2 separate regions of the Homo sapiens genome follow, and region 1 is linked to region 2. The links are contacts of gene promoters, found by promoter capture Hi-C in blood cells and fetal thymus (Javierre and others, 2016). All regions are on one chromosome and are shown on one strand. Each heading gives the region's core, a stretch centred on a gene start or on the middle of the fragment in contact. The rest is flanking DNA. Distances are from core to core; before and after follow the strand shown. Region 1 overlaps PLA2G4A (phospholipase A2 group IVA). Region 2 holds the start of PLA2G4A (phospholipase A2 group IVA).

Region 1 (5,168 bases), core at 1,915-4,414, 110 kb after region 2:
CTAGTAATTTCTAGAAGTAATAAGACTTATTTTTATTATAAAGTTATAAGATTTTGATTGGAAGTACTATTTTGAATAGCATTCTTTCTGTGTCTGTTTATAAATTTAAAGTCATCTTTTTCTTTCTTCTGTGGACAGAGAATGAATACTACTCTGAGCAGTTTGAAGGAAAAAGTTAATACTGCACAATGCCCTTTACCTCTTTTCACCTGTCTTCATGTCAAACCTGACGTTTCAGAGCTGATGTTTGCAGGTATGCTGTTTCCTTTCTCAGAACACTTCCTGGAACCTCTGAATTGCAGTTTCCCATGGTTTTCCTTAGAGGAAGGTCATAAGCAATTTCAGTTGTTTATTTTAATGTATTTTCTGTAACATAAGACTTTGAAGATATAAGAAAATATTAAGTGAGATGATTTCCTGGTTGTAGAGAATATTCCATGAAACTAGTAACTAATGTATTTTCATTTACTATAGTAAAATAAAAATCATGGATACAATCAATCAATACAGTCAATTAATTATCCACTCCTCAGTAACTTTTGACAAAATAATATGCCTAGTGCTTTTAGGTAGTGCAAATTGTTTTACTTGTTGGTTATCTTTTCATTAATTGGGTAATATGATCTACAGTCCTCCCTTGGTACTCATGGGGGATTGGTTCCAGGCCCCCCTGTGGATACCAAATTCAGTGGCTGCTCAAGCCCCACATACAAAATGGCACAGTGTTTGCAGGTAACCTACACACATTCTTATGTATACTTTAAATCATCTCTAGGTTATTTACAATGCCTAATACAGTGTAAATGCTAGGTAAATAGTTGTTATATTGTTAGGGAATAATTACAAGGAACAAAAGTCTGTACATGTTTAGTACAGATCAAACAGTACATGTCAACAACGTTACATTTTCTGGAATTTTTAAAAAATATTTTTGATCTGCAGTTGATAGAATTTGCTGAACTCATGGGTATATAGAGCCAACTGTATGTTTGCCATTCAAAGTGCTGTTGTAATTTTTATAATTCAGCACCTAAAAAGTTCTAGTGTATATTTGTAGTGGTTGATGAACCAATGCCTCATTTTGTTAAAATCTCAGGAGTGAACACTTGTTTCTTCTCAAGCTTTGCTTCTTGGATACTATAAAAGTGCACAACACTACTCGGGAGGCTGGGGCAGGAGAATGGCATGAACTCGGGAGACAGAGGAGCTTCCAGTGAGCCGAGATCATGCCACTGCACTCCAGCCGGGGCCATAGAGCGAGACTCCGTCTCAAAAAAAAAAAAAAAAAAGGGCACAACAGCATACTTTTGGGGGGGCCTCTGTCAGTGTTAGTCTGCAGCACAATAGCATTTCTGACTGTAGCTGGTGGGCTTCATTCTATTTTTAGGAAAATTATCTCAGTGACTTCAGACACCCCATGAGCTTAAAAAACCATCATGAGTGGTGTGTAATTGGCACATATATATCCAGAATCCTTTTGTAATTTTCACTTTTCTCTCAACTGCCTCTCAGACAAAAATTTTGAATAGTTTACAAAAATTAGCACACATGGGATCCATTCATTCAAATGTTTATTAAAATATTGGCTAAAATGTTTGTCATGCTTATGGTTCAGAACGCACTTATCACATTTGCTATTTTATTCCATGTTTCCTACAACCGGGGAGTAGGTATTTTTAGCTCTGTTCAACAGAAGAAAAACGAAAACCTCATAAAGATTAAATAATTTGCACATTGCTGCTTAGAACGTAATTAGCAGTGCTGAAATTGGTTTCAAAAATCCTTTGTTCTTTTTATTTTACCATACTAACTTCTGATGTGTACATAGTGATTACCGTCTATATAGATTGCAGCAGTCTGCCGGGCGCTAAGGATGAATTCCTCTTTCCTCACCACAATATATTGTCCCTACCCTATAAGACCTTATAGTCTGTTTGGAAAATTTACAATAATTATTAAAGAAGTTAAGGCACAAGAGAGTACAGAACTGTTACTATACACTGTCATTTTGACCAAGTTATATAATCTACGTTAGACCCAGTTTTCTCATCTGTTAAGTGAAGATGAGACTTCTCACAATGTTTTGCCAAAAAATGAGACAAAGTATGTAAACAATGGCAGGCCCTAATAATAAGTTTCCAGTACATTTTAACAATTTAGAATGTTCTGTGAAAGCTGTATAAGAAAAGTCAGAGGTCTAGATCTTAAAGATTAATAGGATTTGAATATGAAAGGCACATTTAATTATTGGATTGTGGAAGGGGGCATGTAGCAGGGTCAGGGATAACTCAGGTGTGCTCAATGGCAACAAGGAACCACACATCTTGGGCTATAATGGGGTTCATAGTAGAGAGTTGAGACTTTATTACATAGAAAAGTAAGCGCCATAATGAAATTGCTTCCCCCCAGCCATAGCTATTATCTTGTGGAGCTTTGAAATTTTTGGAATTGTTTGATCTATAACACTTGCATGCTAGTCAGATTTTTGCATGGCCAAATAAATCATCCTTCACCCAGAAAGAATTACATGGTCAAAAGAACACTACATTCTAATTTAAAAGCCTTGTCTTACAATACTTCTAAGCTGAATACCTCAGGCTAGTCATGTAATCTCTGATTCTTATTTTCCTCCTTATTTTAAAAAATATATTAACCCTAAGATTTATCTTCCAGAGCTATTAAGGCAATAATATGAAATATGCATAAGATGAGACTGAAAACTATAAAGAGGCATACAAATATAAAAGTTTGTTTTTATTGTCATGATTGTTCTGGACTTTTCACGGTGGTTATATTTTATTCTGAATTTTTAGTCAATAGCCATTTTCCAAGAAAACTTAACTAAAATAATTAAAGAATAAATAATATTTGGGTGAGTGGATATTCTGGGTTCTTTTAGACTGAAAAAATGCTGTTTTATATTCAGTTAGTAGTCTTTGGACCTGGATGTGTCTTCTTTTGACATCTGCTTCACTGCAGTACTGCTACTGAGATGAGTGGTGCATCATTAACCTTCATTGTTAAGCTTCTGTCATAAGGCGGGTTGAGCTGTGTCTTCCAACAGATTTAGACAAAATCATTAAACATTAATTATATGAATCTTGTACCCAGATAAGACATCTTAAGGTACATGTCTTGAGTGTTCAAGTAGCTTTACTTGAGTTACTGGGAAAAAAAGAATAGAGACACGTCTGTAATTTATTCTTCCAATATATGCTTAGATTGAAAGTGGCTGTGTAGAAGAAAAAGTTGAGATAGTCTCTGAATTATATTTTTAAAAGTCAAATAATCAAATTAGCTTACAGAAGCTTTATTAACAATTTTACTTCAACAATACCGGATAATATTTTCCCTTCCTCTTGGAATAATTTTAAACACACCTTTCATTTAGAAATTTCTTGGAAATTTTCAACAAATAAACATTGGTGTTTAAACTGTTAGAAATTCCTGACTCCTCCACTACATCACATTGCTGAAAGGACTTAAAACGTTCATTTAAAAATTTCCACTGGTGAATAAACTGCATTTATGGATTACAACTTATGGTTATGAACTTAGCATCATGCTAAATTTTTTGACAGACACTTTAGAAGTACAAATATAGTATTTTTCCTCAAGAAAGTTATAATCCTATTGAAAGAGACAAAAATAAAGCATGGAAAAATTCCTATAATATACCTAGACCTGACATAAGTGTGTAGACCTGACATAAGGGTGAGATGTCATAGAGATTTAGTATAGTTGTAAGAAAGGGTGATGAAACTTGGATTTAAGTCGAATGTAGAAGGATCTATCAAGTACGGGTAAAAAGATACCTTTGTGTGGAAACAATATGAGAAAATGCTCAGAAGGGAAGCCAGAGTTATGTTTTGGGCATCACTATTAAAAAAAACAACTAGTCTAGGACTTATGCACACATTGGTGAAGAAAAGGTGTTGTATTTGGAGGCACCAATAGTCCCAAGTTATGGAATGATTTTAATTCCAGACAGAAATATTTTTATTTGATTTTGATGATAATGGAAATAGTTAATGCTTTTGTGCAGGGCAATAAAATTATTTATGTAGTGTTTTTGAAAAAGTCACTTTGGTGACCAATAAAAACAGAATGGAAAGGAATGAAACTGGAAGCAGAGATATCACTGTGCTTTTGTGATAAGGCCCTGGAACTAGGGACATACTGATAAGAAAAGAATAGATGGATATGAGAGGCCTAAAGGTTATCGGTGTGATGCAATGATGGATTTGATAGAGTGATAGCATGGTTTACTGAAATAGGTAAGCTGGCCCGGGAAGAAGGGTGATGAGTTCTTATCTAGGTAAGTATAGTGGGAGGAGATGACAGAATATCTGAGTGTAAGGGCCCCAAAGGAAGTTGAAAGTACATGGAAGCGCAGGAGAGAGGTTGGAGTCAAAAGGTAGAGTCACCAGCAGGAGAGAATTAGTTGAAAACTAACACCGTGAGTTCTTCAGTGAGGGGTGCAGAGCTCATTTTAGCTTTTGAGAATGCCTAAGTTACTATGTGCCCAGGCCATGGCGCTAATCAAGAAGAGATCGCTAGAAAAGCAGGAACCAGGAAGTTGTTATGCCTCAGTTCCCATGATAGGGTTGTGAAATTGAGAGATAGGAAATTACTTGTATGAATACAGGAATTTTCCTAACAGCCTCTGATTCATTGCTAGTTATGTCTCACAAATTCCACGTAAATCGTTGTAAATCACACCACTTTCTGATGAAGAATATATGTACCATTTGGCTTTGACATATAATGAATTACAATGTTATCAAAATTGTGATTTCATCACTTCCTTCATGAAAGGAAGGTGTTGTGACCTACCATTGAACAAACAATAAATATAGATCCACAATTCCTTTTCCAAACCTTTGGTGACATGTGTTTTAGAATTCAAAATGTTTGGATTTTGGAGATATAAAGATACTCATATTGTGTATTACCTAATACCCCATTGGGTTCTTATAATCAGTGATATTTCTCCAATAGGATATATAAATATCCACATTGAGTGGGATAAATGAATTATAAGAGCCCCCACTAACATTCAAGCCTGATTTCTCACTAAATGAATTCAGATTAGATTTTACAAACAAATGAGTAACAAAGAAGCTTATGAATTTTTGAATTGTTTGGATTTTGTATTGTTGGATAAG
Region 2 (5,622 bases), core at 592-3,091:
GATGAGATAAGGAGGCCATAGAACCACAAAATGGGTAAATGGGATTTGGTCTGCACTGATTCCAGAGAGGAAAAGACATACCTGCAGCAGCCTTTATTCATTATAAAGGTGGAGATAAATCAGCTTCATTTAGTAAGGCGGGAAAGAGACAAACTTCTCCCCGTATATATTAACCCTAACCATGACATATAATGACATTTTCTTTAAAAGCGTTTAAATAAATTTTTTATCTTTAATGCATGACACACTATTGGATATCATCTGGAAATATTGAGAGCTATAACTTTTTGTTATCAAAAAAGCACTAGAGCACTTTTTTTGTGCTCTATAAGCAAGCACTGTGAAGCTGCTTTTCCAGGGAGTCTTTTTTATCAGAGTCTTAGAACGAACATGCCCTGCAGTATAGATTCTTTCTTTCACCAGTTGTGTCTGGGGGAAAGAGATGAAAACTACCAGTGTGCTCTCTGCTCCTCTAATTAACATACACCTCCTTTCTAGAAATTCAGGGATTTCTTTGGAAAGAGAAATTTTTTTTTTTTTTTTTTTTTTTTTTTTTTTTTTTTTTTTTTTTTTTTTTTGAGACGGAGTCTCGCTCTGTGGCCCAGGCGGGAGTGCAATGGCGCAATCTTGGCTCACTGCAAGCTCTGCCTCCCGGGTTCACGCCATTCTCCTGCCTCAGCCTCCCAAGTAGCTGGGACTACAGGCGCCCGCCACCACACCCGGCTAATTTTTTGTATTTTTAGTAGAGACGGGGGTTTCACCGTGTTAGCCAGGATAGTCTCGATCTCCTGACCTCGTGATCCGCCCGCCTTGGCCTCCCAAAGTGCTGGGATTACAGGCGTGAGCCACCGTGCCCAGCCCGAAAAATGTTTATTATAAATCTATCCTTCCTAAAAAAGACATTACTGGCTTTTTTTTTTTTCAAAGAGAGATTTATAATATGCCAGGTTGAATTTAGGGGAAAAAAATAAAAACAAATAAGAGTTGAATGTTGGGCTACAGAAAGCAGATATTCCAGAAGATTTAGTGAAATTATATTCTTTGAAAATATTGTAAGAGAGTTAGGAGAGTGAGTTCAGTATTTAATTAAAGGCAAAAACAAGATCCTGTGTTTGAAAAACAAGATATACTAAATGAACATGTCAATCTTTAAAGACATGAATTGATTCTCATGGAATTTGGGTACATTTAAACAATGCACCTTCTTCATTACAGTGCTATAAGGTATTTGGATTTACACTGCAAATTTGGAATTCAACCTGATTTCATTTTCTTCCCTAAATCTCAACATATATATTACATTATTTGGTATGCCTTTAATCTTAAATTTACAAAGAAATTATTATCAACACAGGTGTTCTGAGTCTGGAGTGGAAATATTTAAACAGATTTGATTTTTAAAGTGGTCTGATACTCATTTTTTAAAAATGTACATTTTTATATTTGGGGTTTGTTATAAACTTTGCCTTTTTAAATAATGCAAAAATGCTCTAGGTTATTCACTGTCTTTTCAATTTTGTTCTCCTTTGGAAAAAAGGAGGAAGTAGTTACTACTTAAGGACAAGTAGCAATTTCAGACGCGCGCACGCACACACACACACACACACACACACATCACACACACAGAAATCCACAACAGCACTCATGGAATTTAGGACTGATTAATTTACATATTATTTAAGCATATTTTCTGACTTCAAACTCCTGGTTCTAATAACTAAGCATTTACATTTACAATATTAGCTTCTATGAGAAGAGAGCGTTCTCCCTCTTCCCCTTTAATTCCACCTTAAAACATCTGCAAAAGCGCAAGGAGACCAGCCCACATTTTAGCCCCTCCTACTCAGGATAAGACTTTCTCTAAGTCCGGAGCTGAAAAAGGATCCTGACTGAAAGCTAGAGGCATTGAGGAGCCTGAAGATTCTCAGGTAACTCTGGGAACTGTAAGCAATATATTTATTCTTCCTCTGCTCCACTTCTCTCTCCCACCCTCCTTAGCTTTTACTTGGTAGTTTACTTGGAAGGAAGAAAGGACGGAGGGGAAACCTCGCTGCTTTAAAAAGTCAGCATGTCCTCTGCCTTTTGAAGTGAAACACAGATTAGGGACCTCAATTTTCTTCAAACCCACGCAGATTTGCCTTCCTGGATCTAAATGCACTGTGGAGTCAAAGATTAAGGTGTTTCTTTGGGTTGGAATCCCAGAAAGTTAGCATTCAAAACGGCGGTGAGGTGGCGCTTATTAGCGTTCCACGTGATGACACCCAATGGTTACTGATCCCCAAACTTGAGCAGCAGCATGCTGTGCTGTTTGACAGCCCTAGCGATCTTTAGCGAGAGACTTTGTTGACTCACTTAACTTTTAATTTCTAAAAATTGGTCATTTTTGTTACTTATGGGACGCTTTCCTGGCTAGTCAATATTTTGCAGAATTATGCGAAAGAAAGAGGATTATTGAAAAATTAACTGTAAACGGACTGGTGTTCTGATGATCCACCCTTCCCCTAAGTTACTTGGCTTGCCAAGAGAAAAAAAAAATCTCAAAACTAGATACTAGAAAAGATTTGATCAAATTACATAGTTAAATTTTGAGTGTGGATATTTCAGTAATTTTGTTTCCAAAAAAAACAGAAAAAAAAGGTATTTGATTTTAAAGTATCAGTGGATGAATGTATCTGTCTCCTACAATTTATAATCATTTTAGTCTTAAAAATAAATTCACCTCCAAAACCAGAACAAGAAATACTCCTCATATGGGTTGATGATGTCAGCATTTATTCAGCTAAGGCAGATGGAGAGTATTAGAGGCGTACTGTCTGAATGGGTGTCAATTCTAAAGTTATATTTGCCAATATAATTTGAGTTCAAAGAAGATTTGTATTTTTGTTTCTCTTTGTTGTTTAAATTTAGAATTGTGGCTCAAGGGATATTTGTAGAGGACTGTAGTGAAACAAGCTCTGTTAAGAATTTTAAAGTTACATTCTACAGGTTCCTACACCTTGCCAATCAAGTTAGAGGTTGGGATAAGAAACAGGTATTTACTTCTTTCATTAGCTCCGGAAGAGTTAAATTTTAAATTAAGCAATAATTGTGAAATGCATAGAGAAGTGTTTAATGTGCATTTGCTCAAAGGAGTTTTACAAACTTCCCTTAGGGGAAGCATATTTTTTGAGATAAGACATTGCATCTTTTTAACATATTTTTAAAAAGTAAGTTATTCTGGCTGGGCGCAGTGGCTCATGCCCGTAATACCAGCACTTTGGGAGGCCGAGGCGGGTGGATCACTTGAGGGCAGGAGTTCGAGACCAGCCTGGCCAACGTGGTGAAACCCCATCTCTACTAAAAATAGAAAAACTAGCCGGACGTGGTGGCAGGTGCCTGTAATCCCAGCTACTTGGGAGGCTGAGGCATGAGAATCGCTTGAACCCAGGAGGTGGAGGTTGCAGTGAGCCAAGATCGCGCCATTGCACTCCTGCCTGAGCGAAAACAGCGAAGCTCTGTCTCAAAAAAAAAAAAAAAAAAAAAAAAGTAAGTTATTCTGAAGTGTTTTGCATTTTTGCATTTACATTTAATTAGGAAAAGAAAAATTATTAAATAGATTTTTAGCAACTGAAAATGTTCATTCCATAGAGGTTATTTGGCTTATGTTTTTAACCCATTATCTTTTCTAGTGCTGGTACTTAGAAAGCAGTCATAAAATCGAATCATCTACATATTAAAATTATGTTCCAGGAATAAAAAAGAGGAAGACAGAATTAGTTGTGGTTCCCATTCATCTTGTTTGCTTTTATTTACCATCAGTTTTTTCCTCCTTCTTGCTCCAGATTGTATAGCTTGCTTGCTTGCTTGCTTGCTTTCTTTCTTTCTTTCTTTCTTTCTTTCTTTCTTTCTTTCTTTCTTTCTTTCTTTCTTTCTTTTTCTTTCTTTCTTACTTTTTCTTTCTTTTCTTTTTCTTTCTTTTGTTTTTGTTCCATCAAAGACACTTTTATAATCTTGTGACAGGTATGGACCCCTCCCTAGAATAATGCACATTATGCCATTCCAACACACACAAATTTAAAAACACCTTTAAGAAGTTCACAAATCCCCAAAGACAATTCATATTACATGAAAATGCAGTATTTCTTAAAACTTTGGAGTTTTCTGATAATATAAAATGATTAATTATAAAATCATTTTACTTATAAGTAAGGAACTAACAGTGGATATTGTAGCACCCACATAGTCATTTATTCATTGGTATTCTAGAACTCCAAGCAACTTGGTATAATGGAAAAAACTGCTTGCCTGAAACCAGGTGACCTAGGTTCTAGACTCAACCCCAATAATAATTAACTGTACAATATTACGCTTGACATTTTTCTGTAACATCTGTTGCTTTTATTGCCGAATGCAGTAAGTGAAACATAATAAGAAAATCAGATGCAAGTTATTTTTTATTGGATTGTGGGGTGTCTATATTTACTACTTTTATTCCAAAATTCCTAATGACATTTCCCAGAATGATTAGTTTTTATAACACTATTGTTTATTATAAAGATAAATCACACTCACTGCTTAAAATTTCATTAAATATAGAAAATTGCAAGGAAGAAAAAGAAAATATTACCTATTATTTCCCCCAAGGTACTTTTAAAATGTAATTCAATCATTAATTCAATCAACAAATATCTATTGAGTACCCAGTATGCATCAGCAAAGAGACAGACAAGAAGTTCATGTATATACATGTTTATATGTCTAGATATGTTTCTATACATACATGTAGTTTTACAAAATTGTGATCACACTGTTCATGCTGTTTTGTAACATGCTTCTCCCTCATTCATGAGATGCATTGTTAAAACATGTTTTTTTTAATAATCATGCATTACTTTGTATTCACATATTTAACAAATATTATTAAGTCCCTACTGTGTGTAATGCAAGTAATGGCAATCTATCCATGAGCAAAAGAGTATGGTTCTTACTATATGAAATTTTTCATCTGTATATAGGCTGTACTGGCCAATTATATCTTGTTGGATATTTAGATAGATTAGTTTTCCACTATTATAAATAATTGTTGGATATTTAGATTTATAATAGTTTTCCACTATTATAAATAATATTTCATCTAGGACCTTTTTTATATATGTTAGTATACATTTTTGTTTATTTCCTTATGGTAGATTCTTAAAGTTTATTTTCTAGGTTCTAAAAAAAATTTTATTACTTACAAGTTGTGAGATGATAATCCAATTACTTTATCTCCTTAAAATGTTGTCTTCTCAATTGTAAAATAGAAATAATAATAGTTGGGTATTTTGAGGATTCTTTAAAATATTTAGCGAAATCTCATGGAATGCTAGTGATTATTTTTGACATTTTGCTCTTGAGGAATATGGTATTCATTTATGAGCAATATAAAAGAGTAGAGTTTTCTATGTCAATACTGGGTGCCATCATCAAACAGAGCAAATGACAACAAATCCAACAACTTGGATAATTGATATACGAAAATAGTATCTTGTTTAAATTTACATTTCTTTGTTGAACAAAGTTGAGCAATTTTCATAGTGGCCACTTATATGTCTATGTTTGTGAATTGTCTCTTTCAATGTGATTTAAAAAATTTTTCTCTTT

What was found. The method cuts DNA at HindIII sites, captures the fragments that hold promoters and counts their contacts. A CHiCAGO score of 5 or more calls a contact.
Region 1: a contact is called between a fragment that was not itself captured here and the fragment with the promoter of PLA2G4A in region 2, in 1 of 17 cell types (monocytes). The highest score is 5.6, in monocytes.

The regions. Positions count from the first base shown.
Region 1 is chr1:186,939,842-186,945,009 of GRCh38, forward strand. It overlaps PLA2G4A (phospholipase A2 group IVA), which reads left to right. Exons shown (of 18, transcript NM_024420.3): 10 at 139-253. Among named protein-coding and RNA genes, the nearest start is that of PLA2G4A, 110 kb to the left of the region's middle. The HindIII fragment of the contact is 283 bases long and covers 3,024-3,306 here.
Region 2 is chr1:186,827,108-186,832,729 of GRCh38, forward strand. It overlaps PLA2G4A (phospholipase A2 group IVA), which reads left to right and starts at 1,842. Exons shown (of 18, transcript NM_024420.3): 1 at 1,842-1,928. The HindIII fragment of the contact is 13,801 bases long and covers 1-5,622 here.